Linked DNA regions of Homo sapiens: region 2 is linked to region 1. The links are contacts of gene promoters, found by promoter capture Hi-C in blood cells and fetal thymus (Javierre and others, 2016). All regions are on one chromosome and are shown on one strand. Each heading gives the region's core, a stretch centred on a gene start or on the middle of the fragment in contact. The rest is flanking DNA. Distances are from core to core; before and after follow the strand shown.

What was found. Contacts are between HindIII fragments. The CHiCAGO score rates a contact against its expected background, and 5 or more counts as called.
Region 2: a fragment that was not itself captured here is called in contact with the fragment with the promoter of NEUROD4 in region 1 in 1 of 17 cell types (neutrophils); the score reaches 5.5 in neutrophils.

Annotation. Positions count from the first base shown.
Region 1 is chr12:55,018,717-55,026,067 of GRCh38, forward strand. It overlaps NEUROD4 (neuronal differentiation 4), which reads left to right and starts at 1,258. Exons shown (of 2, transcript NM_021191.3): 1 at 1,258-1,597. It overlaps LOC101927484 (a long non-coding RNA gene), which reads right to left. Exons shown (of 5, transcript XR_245987.4): 5 at 4,772-5,539. The HindIII fragment of the contact is 8,784 bases long and covers 503-7,351 here.
Region 2 is chr12:55,069,558-55,076,088 of GRCh38, forward strand. No RefSeq gene overlaps it. Among named protein-coding and RNA genes, the nearest start is that of NEUROD4, 53 kb to the left of the region's middle. The HindIII fragment of the contact is 7,255 bases long and covers 1-5,781 here.

The DNA.
Region 1 (7,351 bases), core at 8-2,507:
CATTTCTGTTTGACGCATGTGCTAGTTATGTTGTTAGACCACGCGATTCTCAAAAAGCTGGGGATACTCTGGTTTCTTTTCAGATTGTATAAATGTTTTGCCTTTTGCCAAAACGCCTGAGGAATTATCCTTCAAGTCAATTTCTAAAAGAAGTTGAACTTGGATTCGTAACTCTATCAGGCTACTGATGGAAAAACTCATTTTACAGATATGAAAACTGATGCCCAGAGTGAAGTTGACTTATTCAAGATCATTCAGCCAATTGCTTAATCTGAGCACCTTTCTTTTTCCTTCTTGGAAACACAAGATGATTAGAAAATCTTTGGTATCTTAAGTTCACAATCATTTATTTTTCCTTGGTGTAGTTTTAAATAAGATAGTATGAATATCTATATACTTAAATTATTCCAGATGTAGTTTTCTTTCTGTCTTCTAGCAATTTAATTCAACCTCCTAATACCAAAGGAGTTTTAGGAATTATTATGAGCCTTCTCTTCTTCTAAGCTTATTACTACTCAGGTGGACTTTTTCTACGTGAATGCTTAATGATGTATTTTTGAAAAACAATAGTAGATCTCAGTTTGTAACTCAAGGAACTAACTGCCCTTAAAATGAAGGATTTTATTAATTTCCTTTTTGTTTTTATAAATTTAAAGTGATCAGAAAGTTGAAAGAATAGCACAACAAATATAGCTTCACCTAAATTCACAAATTAAAAGTTTTAATGAGAGTAGCTTTGACGTGCTGAAAAGGTGGGAGAGACATACTTCTTCCTTCTACTTTTAGAACGCTGAAGTTTATAAGCCAAAGACCCCAGTCCACATGTGTAAGGAAGCAGCCACTGATGCTGTGTCCTTGACACGCATCTTTCTCACCTTTTGATTCTTTTCAGACGTGGGTCAGCAGCGTCATCTGCCCTTTTTAGCTCTCTCTCCAAGTCTATCCCCAATTTTCTTTCTCCATTCTGTCCACACTACTCCGCTCCCATTTCTTATCTTTTTAATCACAAAGGTTTCCAGTCCTCTTTTTCTTTACTCCTTAACTTCAGCAACTCTCCTCCCCTGCTCCCCTTCCACCAACCCCCATCTCTATTTAAACAAACAAACGGGCGGCAAAACTGGACCTGGCCGGAGGAGCCTTTCAAGTGGGCGTGTCTTTCGGCTGGGGAAAAGGGAGGAGTTAGACTCTGGGCAACATCACTCCTCCCTGGTCAGCTGGGAGAGCAATCAAAACTGCAGCAAGTCAGAGGCTCCGGCCAGAGAGCAGGAGCTGCCCAGAGGCTTGTGGTCCTGAAAGCTCCTCTCCGGGGAGCTAACCAGGGAGAGGAGGTACTGAAGAGCGACTAAACTGGCTGCAGCGGAGAGATCAGCCCGAAGGCGTCCTTGAGGAGCATACGGAACTCCAAGGAAGGAGTAGAATAAGGAGCAGGCAGAGAAACCAGACCCGGTGGAATCTCTAAGAGGTAACAACCGGGTTTGACATGGATCGCTGAAAGCGTCTCTTCTACCATCTGGATGGTCAGGGAGACTTGGCTTCTCTGACTGTCCTCTAAGACGCAGATTCACAGAGTTCACTCCAGGAACGGCCAGTGACCGAGGTGAGCCAGTGGTTGGGGTGGTAAGGGGGCTAAAGTTTCTGTGGGAAGTTCCCACTCACCTAGAGGAGCAGTTGGGGTGAGGAAAGTCTCTTCTGGGTAAGGCAGGAGGAAGTGAGATTTAGGAAACTTGGAATGTAGAAGCTAGTGAGTTGGAACACTTAGGGACAAATATAAACATTTTAAATAATTTTATTAAATTTTATAGCACTTGCCACCCAAAGTGAAACACATAGACACTCACAATCATTTTAATAAAGTGAAGAATACAGATGATCTCCCCCAATTCCTGTCAAAGCCACTCTTTCATTTTGTTAGTGGTGAAAATGTCGAAAAGTTTAACTGCTTTTCCAAGGTGGCCCAGCAAGTAGGTTGGAAGAATTGACCCAATCCACCACTCTGCTCACAGCATTTTAGGGCTATGCAAGGACGGAGGGGGAGGCAGGGAAAGGAAAACAGAATGAGGAATCAGAGAAGATTGTGGAAAATCCTCGGGGTAGATTCTCACCATTAACTATTTTGTTTACTAAAAATGCTTGAATAGTTGGCACAGGGTGGGGGAAATTTCCTTTTCCTCAGCTCTTTCAGATGGGAAATTAGAAGAAAAAGATTGTCCAAGTATATTTTTCCTTTCTCTGCTTCACACTCATCATTTGCCCGCAAAAAAAGTATACTCAGAAAATACTAATTAAATGTAAAATACCCACCCCCATTTTTTTGACAGAGGAAGCAGAGGTGAAATGCTGAAGAACATGCAGGGAAAAATAAGGGACTGAATAACTTCTGTTAACTATTAAGATCTGAGGCAATGGCACCTGAAGTATTACATGGCTTTGCTGGACAAAATGTGTGTGTATGTGCATGCATGTACATACATGTGCACATATATTAATAAAGGGGAAAATAGTAGAGTAGAAAAGAAGAGCATAGAGCAAACTACTGGCTTTTTCCAAGCAGTACAACTTGTGAACATCCTGATTTGGATTCTGTCTTTTTAGTGCCAAGACTGTGCAACTCTGGGAAAAGAATTTAGTCTATTTAGTTCTTAGATTTCCTAGAAACTGGGCTGGACAGCCCCCTTTCTGTTGTATTTAGTCATCGGATCAGGAGGTAAAGAGATTATCACCAGCTTTTAAGAGGAAAGACACCATCTAACTACCACAAATCCACATGTGAGTTCCCCTTACCTATTAATTAGTTGAAATATCTCCACAATAAATAAAAAATTTGTAAAAGTGTAGAAAGAATTCCAGGATAGCTTCACATAGTAGTAATGCTTAACGACTTTGGCCCTAGTAGTAAAAATATTCAGTAGTAACAATCATTGCCTAAGCAAACACTTTGCTAGAACAGATTTAAAATTTTTAAAAATATGAGAAATATTTTGAATTAAAGAGAATTGGCCAAACTTGAAATTTCACTGAAAGACCCTATAGAACGAGGAAAATTCTGTTATATTGTGTAGGTATAAAAGAAAATCCAAATACCAAATGGCTAAAAATGGACTTTATAAGACCAGAATGTGTTTATGTGTATGTGTAGGGAAGGGCCAGATTCTGCCCCTTGAGCCAGTATTCATTGATTTTTGTCATGTTCGAGCCTATTTCCTATGTAATTTGTGAGCTAATTTCTTTCCTAGGAATTGAGGCAACCTTAAGATGGTATATCATGATGCTTTGTGAGATAGTGCTACAGACTTTCTCAAACAGCTTCTGTAAAACAATTGCCAACCCTCACATTGGCATAACAATTTTACAAAGTACTTGTGCTTGCATTATCTCCTTATTTTTCATGAAAACTTCTAAATGATGTAGCAAAGACAATCTTATTTTCATTTTGCCCTAAGGGTACAAAAATTACAATAATTACAATAATTTTTCTGTGCTCCTTTAATGAGTGAATGATGAAACAGTCTTGGTTCCATGCTTCTTTCAGTACACCTGTGAGATGGTTCCTTAACAGGCTGAAAGCAACATTAGATTTAGGCACCTGTTCTGGAGACAACCCTTGGTTTCTTTGATCACAACTTTTGTTGTGATCAGTATGTGTGATCACAGTACACATATTTTCAACACTCAAATTTAAAACTAGATGTTTCTATTTTTTTCCTGTTAACCTTTTTGATGCATTGAAAATATTTAGGTGAAAAAAGTCAGATAAACATTTTTCTTTATATTTCAGGAGTCTTGGCTTTCACTGCTTTCACTTCTCTCTGATAGACACTGCATATTATCCTCAGAGCTCTGCCATTTGGTTTTGGTGGGAAAAATTGTATTCGCAATACAGAAGGTTCATGAATCTGAAAATGTATGTGATTGAATAGGAGTGTCAAGCTAACTGTTTTCTCCCAATTATAAAACAGAGTGAAAGTTTGGGAGCTAACTTCCATCTTGAATATGATGGAAGAGTTCTAGTCAACTCAGTGGAGGCAGTTGATAGGGCTTGGTTTCCTTACCTCTTGCTACAGAACAGAAACTTTGATTTCAGTTTCAATAGGAGACTGGAGGAGTAGGTGTATTGGGGAATTTTTTCAAATAGATGTTGAAATGAAGCCATTGGCTTTTGTTGATGCAAAATCAATATTAATAACAGATTCTAATTATACCTATTCTTGTCCAAGTGGCCAGAAAAATTCATGGTGATGTTTAGGAGAACAATACCTAAAACTTAACATGAAATTCATGTTGTATGACACTATTCAAAATGCTTCAAATATATCAACTCATTTTATGCTCCTAATAATCCTATGAGGTAGGACTGTTATTATTCTCATTTTAAGGAGAAGGAGACTGAGGCAGATAAGGGTTATGAAACTGGCCTAAATTCATGTATCTAGTGAGTAGTGGAGCTGAAGTTTGAATCCAGGTAATCTGACACTGGAGTCTGTGCTATCTATCCCACCATGGGAAAAATGATAGGCTACTGAGTAACTGTCAGATGATTTTCTAAACCAATCAGAGGTAATATCCAGATAATAAGAGACACACTAGTTGATACAGTCTGTTTTATTATTCATCTGTGAGAAATAATTTTTATTTTTGAATAAGCAAACGTGTGTGAATAGATTAGATAAGAAAACCCAAGAATAAACAGGAAATAAATGTATAGATGTTTTATAGCATTTACAGCTATAAAATTTTTTATTATATTTTTCTCTTACAAGAATCACATAACCTGTATGTTAGCCTTATTTTATTAGAGGAAATGGAAGAACAGATAACTTTATATAATGTGTTTGGGATCAACAACCCAGGAATTAGAAGAATTGGGACTAGAGTTCACATTTGTGTTATTCTAGCTTCCATTCTTTTGAAACCATACTATATACTCATGGGATTCTCTTGGAAGTTAATGGACCGGCACCTGTGAGAACAGAGGAAGTTAAACTGGAGCCATCTGTGTCCTTCCCATGATTAGTAAGAGAACAAAGGTGAAAGAAAACTGGTTGACCTTTTCATTACTTTGGCCAAAGCCAGTTGATTCTTTTCCTTTATACCCACCAACAAGCTGATTTGAAAGCAGCTCCTTGACTCTTACAGAAACCATTAAATATGTTAGAAGTAAAAGATGGTCTATTCTATCCTCCCAATCTCACTTATTTTGATGTGTGTGAATATTGACAGATCTTAAAAAGAGTCCAGAGGTATAGAGGTAGGGATGGTGAAAAAGGCTAAATCCCCCACCTAGGATGGTATTCAGATCCAGGGACAATTCAGGAGACTCTCCTCTCTTGCACCTTCCTTCTTTCCTTCCTTCTCTCCTTTTCATGCATCTCAGTATGAGCCAGTGATCATAATGATAATGAAGATAAGAGAATGAGGATAAGGAGAAAAAGGGGGAGGATGAGGAAGAGATGATGATCTCTTGGATGATGATCACTCCTGTTGACTCATTTCTATTGCTGTACATCTCCTGAAGCCAAAGTGCCTTTCTTTCTTCCTATAGCTGTGATAGAAGAAGAACAAGGAAAATAAAAACATAAAACCTAAGATGTAAAATAAGAAGAATTAATTTTATGTCCCACTCCACCAGAACTATATCTTTGCATTTCCATCACTTAAACTACCTGACCCACAGTGACCTTGAGTATAAAATGAGCATAAAAATTTCTATCTCCCTCAAAGGTTTTCTATAAGAAACATATGAATTAATGGATACAAAAGTGCTCTGTAAACTTTAAAATGCTACACAAATGTTATTATAATTACATGGGGAGCATTAGGTTTCCCAAGCCCACTCCATCCTTTTTGGCCTTAGAGTGCACCTGCCTCTGGAAGAGCTGTGTTACTTTAACAGAAAGTTAATTAGGTTCTTTACCCTCCCTCTGGATATCTGCCTGAGTTAGAAGTGCAGCTCAGCACACAAGCTCTATCATCCATATTAAAAGTGGGATTTTCTGAGTTGGCCTGGGCAGCTAGTTGACCAATAAGTTCCAATGTGTGTTTTCAATAAAGCTGCTTACCCAGGAAGCCTTATTAAGTGAGTAAGTCAAGCTGACATGATTTCCGTGCTGATTAACATGAAACCTAGGCTGCTTTCGCAATGCAGTTACATTAATTATTTATAGGAGGTAAATGAGGTTACAAGGAAAACAAGCTCCAATTACCAGAAACAAATCAAATAATATATCTTTATTTTTAAAAGCTATGTACTAATCCCTGGGTTCATTGATTTGAGGCTCAAGCATCAAAGAACAGAAAACATTTATTACATTCTCCTCTTTCTCATAATAAAAGGTGATAGTGGGTTTAATATTTCAAAGAGTAGCTGGTAAACTGGGATGCCCCAATGGAGCTTATCAGATACTTTTATTTGGTAAACCATATGCCTAAAAATTGCTTAGCAAACTTTAAAACAATTCAAACTCTTCCAGAATTGAATGCAAAATGTTTACTAAATCACTAGTCTCTTCTGGTTTTCAAATAGTGAATTTTGCATACAAAATTCTGATTAAACAGTGTGTTAGTGAATTAAAGTAGTCAGGCTATTCCTGTGTTTGCCTGAAATAGTCCTCACTTGTGTTAGCAGTCACTATGTTCTGTTCCACTAGTTCCACTAGTTCCACTAGTATTTGTTCCAGATTTTTCATTTTAAATAAAGTATTATTATAGTAGTTGTACTAAACCTTGGATGGGTTTGGTAGACCACTGGCTGCACTCCTAGCTGTTGCCATTGTCTTGTCTGACAGTGTGAGATGCATGTGCAAAGAGATCTCACTTTAACATATGGGCAAATTTGAAAGATGAGCAGTGATAACCCTCCTTTCTTTTCATGATCCTTTCAAGATGCCATGTCACTAACACTTCTAACATAACTCACACTAGACAGAACACAAAGTGCTTACTGAAAAACAGAATGCTCCTCTGGTGATAGTGAGAGTAATGTTTGATGGTCACGTGTTGGACCAGCCAGTGAGAGTAATGTTTGATGGTCACATGTTGGACCAGCCAGTTGTGTCATGGACAACTTGAAGGAGATGATTGAGGCCACCAGTTAGCAATACTGGTGAGAAACATCGGGTATTATAGGCTAGATGGATGTGAAATGCTTCTAAATACAGGTTGAGTAGTCTTTTGTAGAACACATACAAAGTAGTCTGAATGATCTTGCTACAGTTTTTTATTTTGTATGGTGTAAATATACAACAGTGTGCTTATTTGACTATTTGATGGGTTTTTTATTTTGTAGTAACAATAATTATTACACACATAGACTTATTTTTAGCATGCTCTTTCACTTTCAGAAATTTCTCTACTT
Region 2 (6,531 bases), core at 904-3,403, 52 kb after region 1:
ACTTGTCACAGAACTGGTCAGCATTGAAATAAAACTAGAGCCTGGCTTCTTCTCATGACCCTCCTGGCACCGTCCATTAGATTACACTGTCTTCAACCATCGTAATATAGACTCACCCATGAAATGATGGTATAGTGCCTGTTTCTTGCACATGCCTGAGCCAAAAGTGAGAATTCAGTTATCCTTTGACGTCGAAGAAGTAGCGGTAAGTTCCCCCTGACCACTGCATCCAGGATGTTTGTGGATTTTTTTTCAAAAACAAATTTTTCTGAGTCCTAGCTGAAGGACTGGAGAGGAAAAATACTTACTGAGCTTAATTACGTGCTGGTGACTGAGATAACTGTGGGCTATTTTACGTTTATCATTCTGACTTTAATCCCAACAACAATTCTAGAGAGAAAATATAATGAAAGAAACCAACTTATATCAAAATGAGAGAGATACAGAAGAATTTTCTGACTTAGATTGTCAAATATTTGAAGAAATATTAGACAAATAAAGCTCATGCAATTTCCTTCTCAACCATTTAAATCTTTAAGGGGCAAATGAAACATGTTTATTGATTATTAGTGCCAAATACTGTATATATCTCTTTAAAACTTACAGCAACTATCTAGTAGTATTATAATTATTCTCATTTTATAGATGAGGCAACTGAGTCTCAGAGAGATTTAAAGAAAAAAATGTTACTCTAATTCACACGGTGGTTGAGTGGTGTGGGCACGAATAGCAGGCTGAACAGTCTGATTCTAATGTCCACTCTTTTTACGTTACACTACATTGATCTACTCTGTTACATTCACATGACATAATACAAACCCAGGCCTGTGCTGTCCAATACAGTAGCCATTAGTCCTATGTGACTATTTAAATTAATTAAAATGAAATAAAGTTAAAAATTCAGTCCCTCAGTCACATAAGTCAATATTTCATATGTTCAATGGTCATGTGTGGCTAGGGGCTACTCTATACTGGAAAGAGCAGATATAAGACATTTTCATTAATGCAGAAAGTTTTTGACAGAACAAGATCCCCTCTAGATGAGAAGTGGTACAGTGGAGTGGGTGAGGGCATAGGCTTTAGAGTCAACAGATTTGGGCTTGAAACCTACTTTTCCCACTGTTATTTGTATGATGTTGTCCTTGATTAATTGTACTTTTCTTATTTAGTCCTCAATTTACTGGTTTGAAGCCTGAGGACAATAACAGATTTTCCCTCAAAGAGTTATTAGAGTCAGACAGAGAGCAGAATTCCAGAAAATTGGTAAGGAGTTGGCAGAAGTTAGCTATTATCACAAGCTATCTACAGTTTTGAAAAAAATGACTATGTTTTGTTAGAAATAGGCACAAAAGGGTATATACATATTTGATTTACTGTATTTGTAAAATAAGCCAGGTTGATATGAGAATTTTCCTAAAGCAGATTTAGTAAAAATTTTGTCCAGGAATCATATTTGTGCAAAAATTTGCTACCCTACTCAGAGTAGGGATACTATATTTCATCCTTGAATTCCTGTGGCCTAGCACAGTGTGTGTCTTGATTAGTTTTTTGTTGCTGTAACAGAATACATTATAGTGTATTCTGGGGAAACTTATTAAGAAGAGAAATTTATTTCTTACAGTTCTGGAGACTGGGATGTCCAAGGTCAAGACACTGGCAGGCTTGGTGTCTGCTTCCAAGATGGTGCCTTGAATGCTGCATCCTCCAGAGGGGAGGAACACTGTTCCTCACATGGCAGAAGAGCAGAAGGGGAACCCACTTCCAAAAGCTCCTTTATTGCAACATTAATTCATTCATTAGGACTGAGCCCTCATGACCTAAACACCTCCCATTTGGTGCCACCTCCCAACACTGTTACATTGATGATTAAGTTTCCAACACATGAGTTTGGAGTAGACAAAAACATTCAAACCATAGCAGAGCCTTACATTTAGTAGTCCTATATATGTTGGCTGAAGTGAAGTGAGAGATGGCAAGAGGTACAAAAAGGGATGGTCAGATGCATTTTGTTTTGTCTGGTCCATCATGTTGTACATCACACCACAAACCCCAGTTTCACATAAATGAGCTAGGGTGACCAACCATCCTGGTTGCCCACCTCAGAACTTTCCCTGTTTTAGAACTGAGAAACCTCTCAGGCCCAGGAAAACCAGAATATTTAGTTACCTGACTGGGTTCAGCTTTAATGAGAATCTGACTTTAAGGTCAAGTAAAAGGTTTATCTACTTCTATAGCCCAATATTACTTAAACGTGAGAGATATCCATTCCTTTTATCATCAAAATAAACAAATGAAGTTCAGCCAAAATACGAATAAGGCTCTTGATATCAGAATATCTCCTATTTTGTTGTGGGAAAGGGGGTAGGAAATGGGAAGATACTGAAAGGAGAGTGTTAGGTCAGGGAGAGCTGGAACTAGAAAAAGGTCTGGAGTGATGCAGGATTTTTCTCAGCCCCTTTGTCAGACTAATGACAGGGGTGCCCTGTTTACTTGGCCCACCACACTCAACCCTTTGTGAGAGAGAGCATGTGAGTAAGTGAGTGGGATCCAGCCAGCTGCTTTGGGCACCAGCAGGAGCAAGCTCAGTGTGGAGCCTGCAGTGGTGCCCAGGTGGGGGTGCCTGCCACCCCAAAACCCCAGAGGGCATGTTTGCAGTGCTCTCATAGCTCTGCCATCTGCAGACAGCAGTGTCTTAGCAGCTCGGTTGGCCCGTTGCCTCATTGTGTGGGGTGGCTGCCCTCTGCTGGCAAGGGCAAAGAGCCAATGTGGCAGCCTTTTTTGGGTACCTGCACTCAGTGGGTTCTGAGCTCTTGGATGCTGGACAAGAAGAATGAGGTTAGCCTTGAAGGATGGTGAAGGCGGAGAATTTTATTAAGTGATGGAAATTGTTCTCAGTGGACAGGGGAGCTGGACAGGGGATGGGACAAGCAGGTAGTCTTTCCCCCAAAGTCCGGCTGGCTCTTTCACGAAGTCCAGCCAGCTATTCCCTGAAGTCAAGCCACCTCAGTGAAGTCAAGCTGCCTCTCTTCTCTACTGACTGAGTCTGGGGTCTTTATAAGCACAGGATGGGAGTGGGGGCAGGCCATAGGTAGTTTTGGAAAAGGCCATGTTTGACTGGTAAAAAGACATTACTCAGAAAGAGCCAATTGGGAGAGAGTGGGCAAAGAGGAATGGAAGTTCTCACTTTGGGCTGCAGGTCTCAGGCCACTTTGGCATGAAGGTGGGTTTTCACCGGGGACCCGCCCCGTCTGCCTAGAATTTCTCTGCCTCCTGCCTCTATCAGGAGGACCTAAGCAAAAATTTTGCTCACTACTTAGTTTACATATTTTGTTATTCCACCGTATCATTTCTCTTAGAAATAACAGTCCCTAGAGGATCTGGGATAGAGAAAGGCCACAGTGAATGTTTATAATACTGTGAAGGAGCTGCCCTGGAAACTAAAAGATCAGGTTCTAATCCTGGTTCTGTCATGAACTATTTTTGACCTTTGATAAGTCGCCTACATTTTCAGAAATTCAGTTTCCTCTTTGGACTCTGAAGGAAAATGTGGGCTCAATTGATCAAAAGATCCTAGTTCTTTGTAGATCGAATACTTAGGATTTAATAGGAACATCCTCTCAGAAGCCCATCATGACTTTTCACCACTGACTAGGCCAAGTATTGATGGTGCTATCATGGGGATGTGCTGCCACCTTGCGGTAGTTTGAGTTGTCCGCATGCACTAGTTTACTAGGAAAATCTCTGATTTATTTTCCTACAATATGTTGTTATTTTCACCCAAAGGAACACATTCTTTTAAAATTTGGAATCCTTAGGATATCTTCATTTACTTAGATTTTTTTGTAGCAATATTTTGTAGTTTTAAATGTAGAAATATTAAACATCCTTGATAAAATTTATACCTTTATTTTGATATTATAAATGGTACTTTTAATATTAAAATAAATTTAATTTTACAATTTCTGTTGTTAGTATATAGTAATAAATTGATTTTTATATATTAATTTTGTATCCCAAGATTTTTTTAGATTTATCTTTCGGTTTTAGCAGTTTTTTGAGGGTGGTAAGGGGGCTAGATCCTTAGGATTTTCTATATGCAAAATTATGTAATTTTGAATAAGGAAATTTAAACTTCTTCTTGACCAATCTGTATGCCTTTATCTTCTTTTCACCATTGAATATGATGTCAAAAGGTTTTAGTAGACAACACTAATAGAATGCTTACTGTTGTTTCTGTAGTCTTATAAAAGTATGAAATACATTAATCTTATTTATTTATTTATTTATTTATTTATTTATTTATTTTTGAGATGGAGTCTTGCTCTGTCGCCCAGACTGGACTGCAGTGGCGTGATCTCAGTTCACTGCAACCTCCACCTCCTGGGTTCAAAAAATTCTCCTGTCTCAGCCTCCCAAGTAGCTGGGACTACAGGAGCATGCCACCACGCCTGGCTAATTTTGGTATTTTTAGTAGAGTCGGGGTTTCGCCGTATTGGGCAGGCTGGTCTCGAACTTCTGACCTCAGGTGATCCACCCACCCTGGCCTCCCAAAGTGCTGGTATTACAGGCATGAGCCACTGCGCCTGGCCACATTAATCTATTTAATCATCATAGTCCTCTGGGATATGTACTATCATTGTTCCTGCTTTAAAGATGACGAAATTAAAGTTTAAGGAGGTTAAATGTCTTACCTGAGGTCATCAATGACAGAGCTATCAAATGGAGGAGCTGGATTTTAAACTTATTCATTATGTTATTCTACTGCTTTATGCTTCTTCCAAGAATTCTTAAAAGTTACATTTATTGTGGTACAGTTTCTTAGGCTTTGTTTATCTGAGAATATTTTTATGATATCCTTACACTTACGTTATAAAATTTTAGATTCTAACTTCTTGACTCAATTCTTTCAGTGCAACCTTTAAGAAATCAAATGGCAACATCATTCTTCTTTTAAGATCATCTGCTGTTTATTTCTGAAGGGTTTTCCAGATCTCTCTGTATTGTAGATATTTCTAATTTTTTCTATAACATGTCACTGTATTTTCTCCTTAAGTGTCATGTTTAGTCTTCTGTGTTCCCTTTTTGTTTGAAATTGTTCACATATGTATGTTTTATGTATAATTCTTACAAATTTTCAATCAGCGTGGCTGTTCTTAAGCATGTTTCCATTCATGTTTGAGCTAGGGATAAAAATAATGAGATGGTGAGGGACTTCCTAAATTTAAAATAAACATCTATTCATCTAAAGATCATGGAATTCTATTTTTTTTCCCAATTGCTTTGATAAAAAGCAAACAACATGAAAAAGTTATTGGCAGGTTGAAAAGTCTAACAGAAAACATTTGCTTAAAGCTGGTCTTCGGCTCTTTGTTTCCACTTTTATGACGATTAGGAAGCACCTGGACTAAGCCGGCAAGGCACCATGCCAAATGGAGCAGAAACAAGTTGCTCAGAAATTCATTAAATTTACATCTTAATGAAAACTATTTTCTGCCTAGAAACAGTATGAATATAATAAATCCCAGTGGGGAGATTCTGGGTTTGTTGGATAGGACTGAAAATGAAGAAAGTTTTTGTGTTGTAGTTGCAATTGTTAAATGATGAAAGAGAAGTTCTAAGAGCACTAGTGATTGGGAGACTAGGAGACATGTTTTTTCTATATGTAGAGTTCCAATTCAAACCCCCTAAATGATTCATAGACTACTTGACATTGTCTATAAATCACTAACCAGTGACTTTTATTGGGTTTAACTCATCTTCTCCAACTTCTAAAACTGAAGAAGCTTCTGGGCAATCTCAATTGACAAAATTATTTAGCCACCTCTTCTAATATTACTTCTAAAGGATATATTTAACATGAATAACAGACCTTGGATTCAATTAATAAAATGATTTATTCTTCATAATTAAAAAAGAATAATCAATTTCTTTTTTTAATTTTAATTTTTATTTTAAGTTTCAGGGTACATGTACAGGCTATGCAGGTTAGTTACATAGGTAAACATGTGCTATGGCGGTTTGCTGCACCTATCAACCCATCACCTAGATATTAAGGCCTGCATGCATTAGCTATTTCTCCTAATGCTCTCCCTCCCCCTACCCCATACCCTGACAGGCCGCAGTATGCATTGTTCCCCTCCCTGTGTCCATATGTTTTCATTGTTCAGCTCCCGCTTATGAGAACCTGCGGTATTTGGTTTTCTGTTCCTGTATTAGTTTGCTAAGGATAAAAGCTTCCAGCTCCATCCATGTCCCTGCAAAGGACATGATCTTGTTTTTTTATGGCTGCATAATATTCCATGGTGAATATGTACCACATTTTCTTTATCCAGTCTATCCATGATGGGCATTTGGGTTGATTCCATGTCTTTGCTATTGTGAGTAGTGCTGCAATGAACATATGCATGCATTTATCTTTGTAGTAGGATGATTTATATTACTTTTGAGTATGTACTCAGTAATGGGATTGCTAGTTCAAATGGCATTTCGGGTTCTAGATCTTTGAGGAATCACCACGCCATCTTCTCCAAC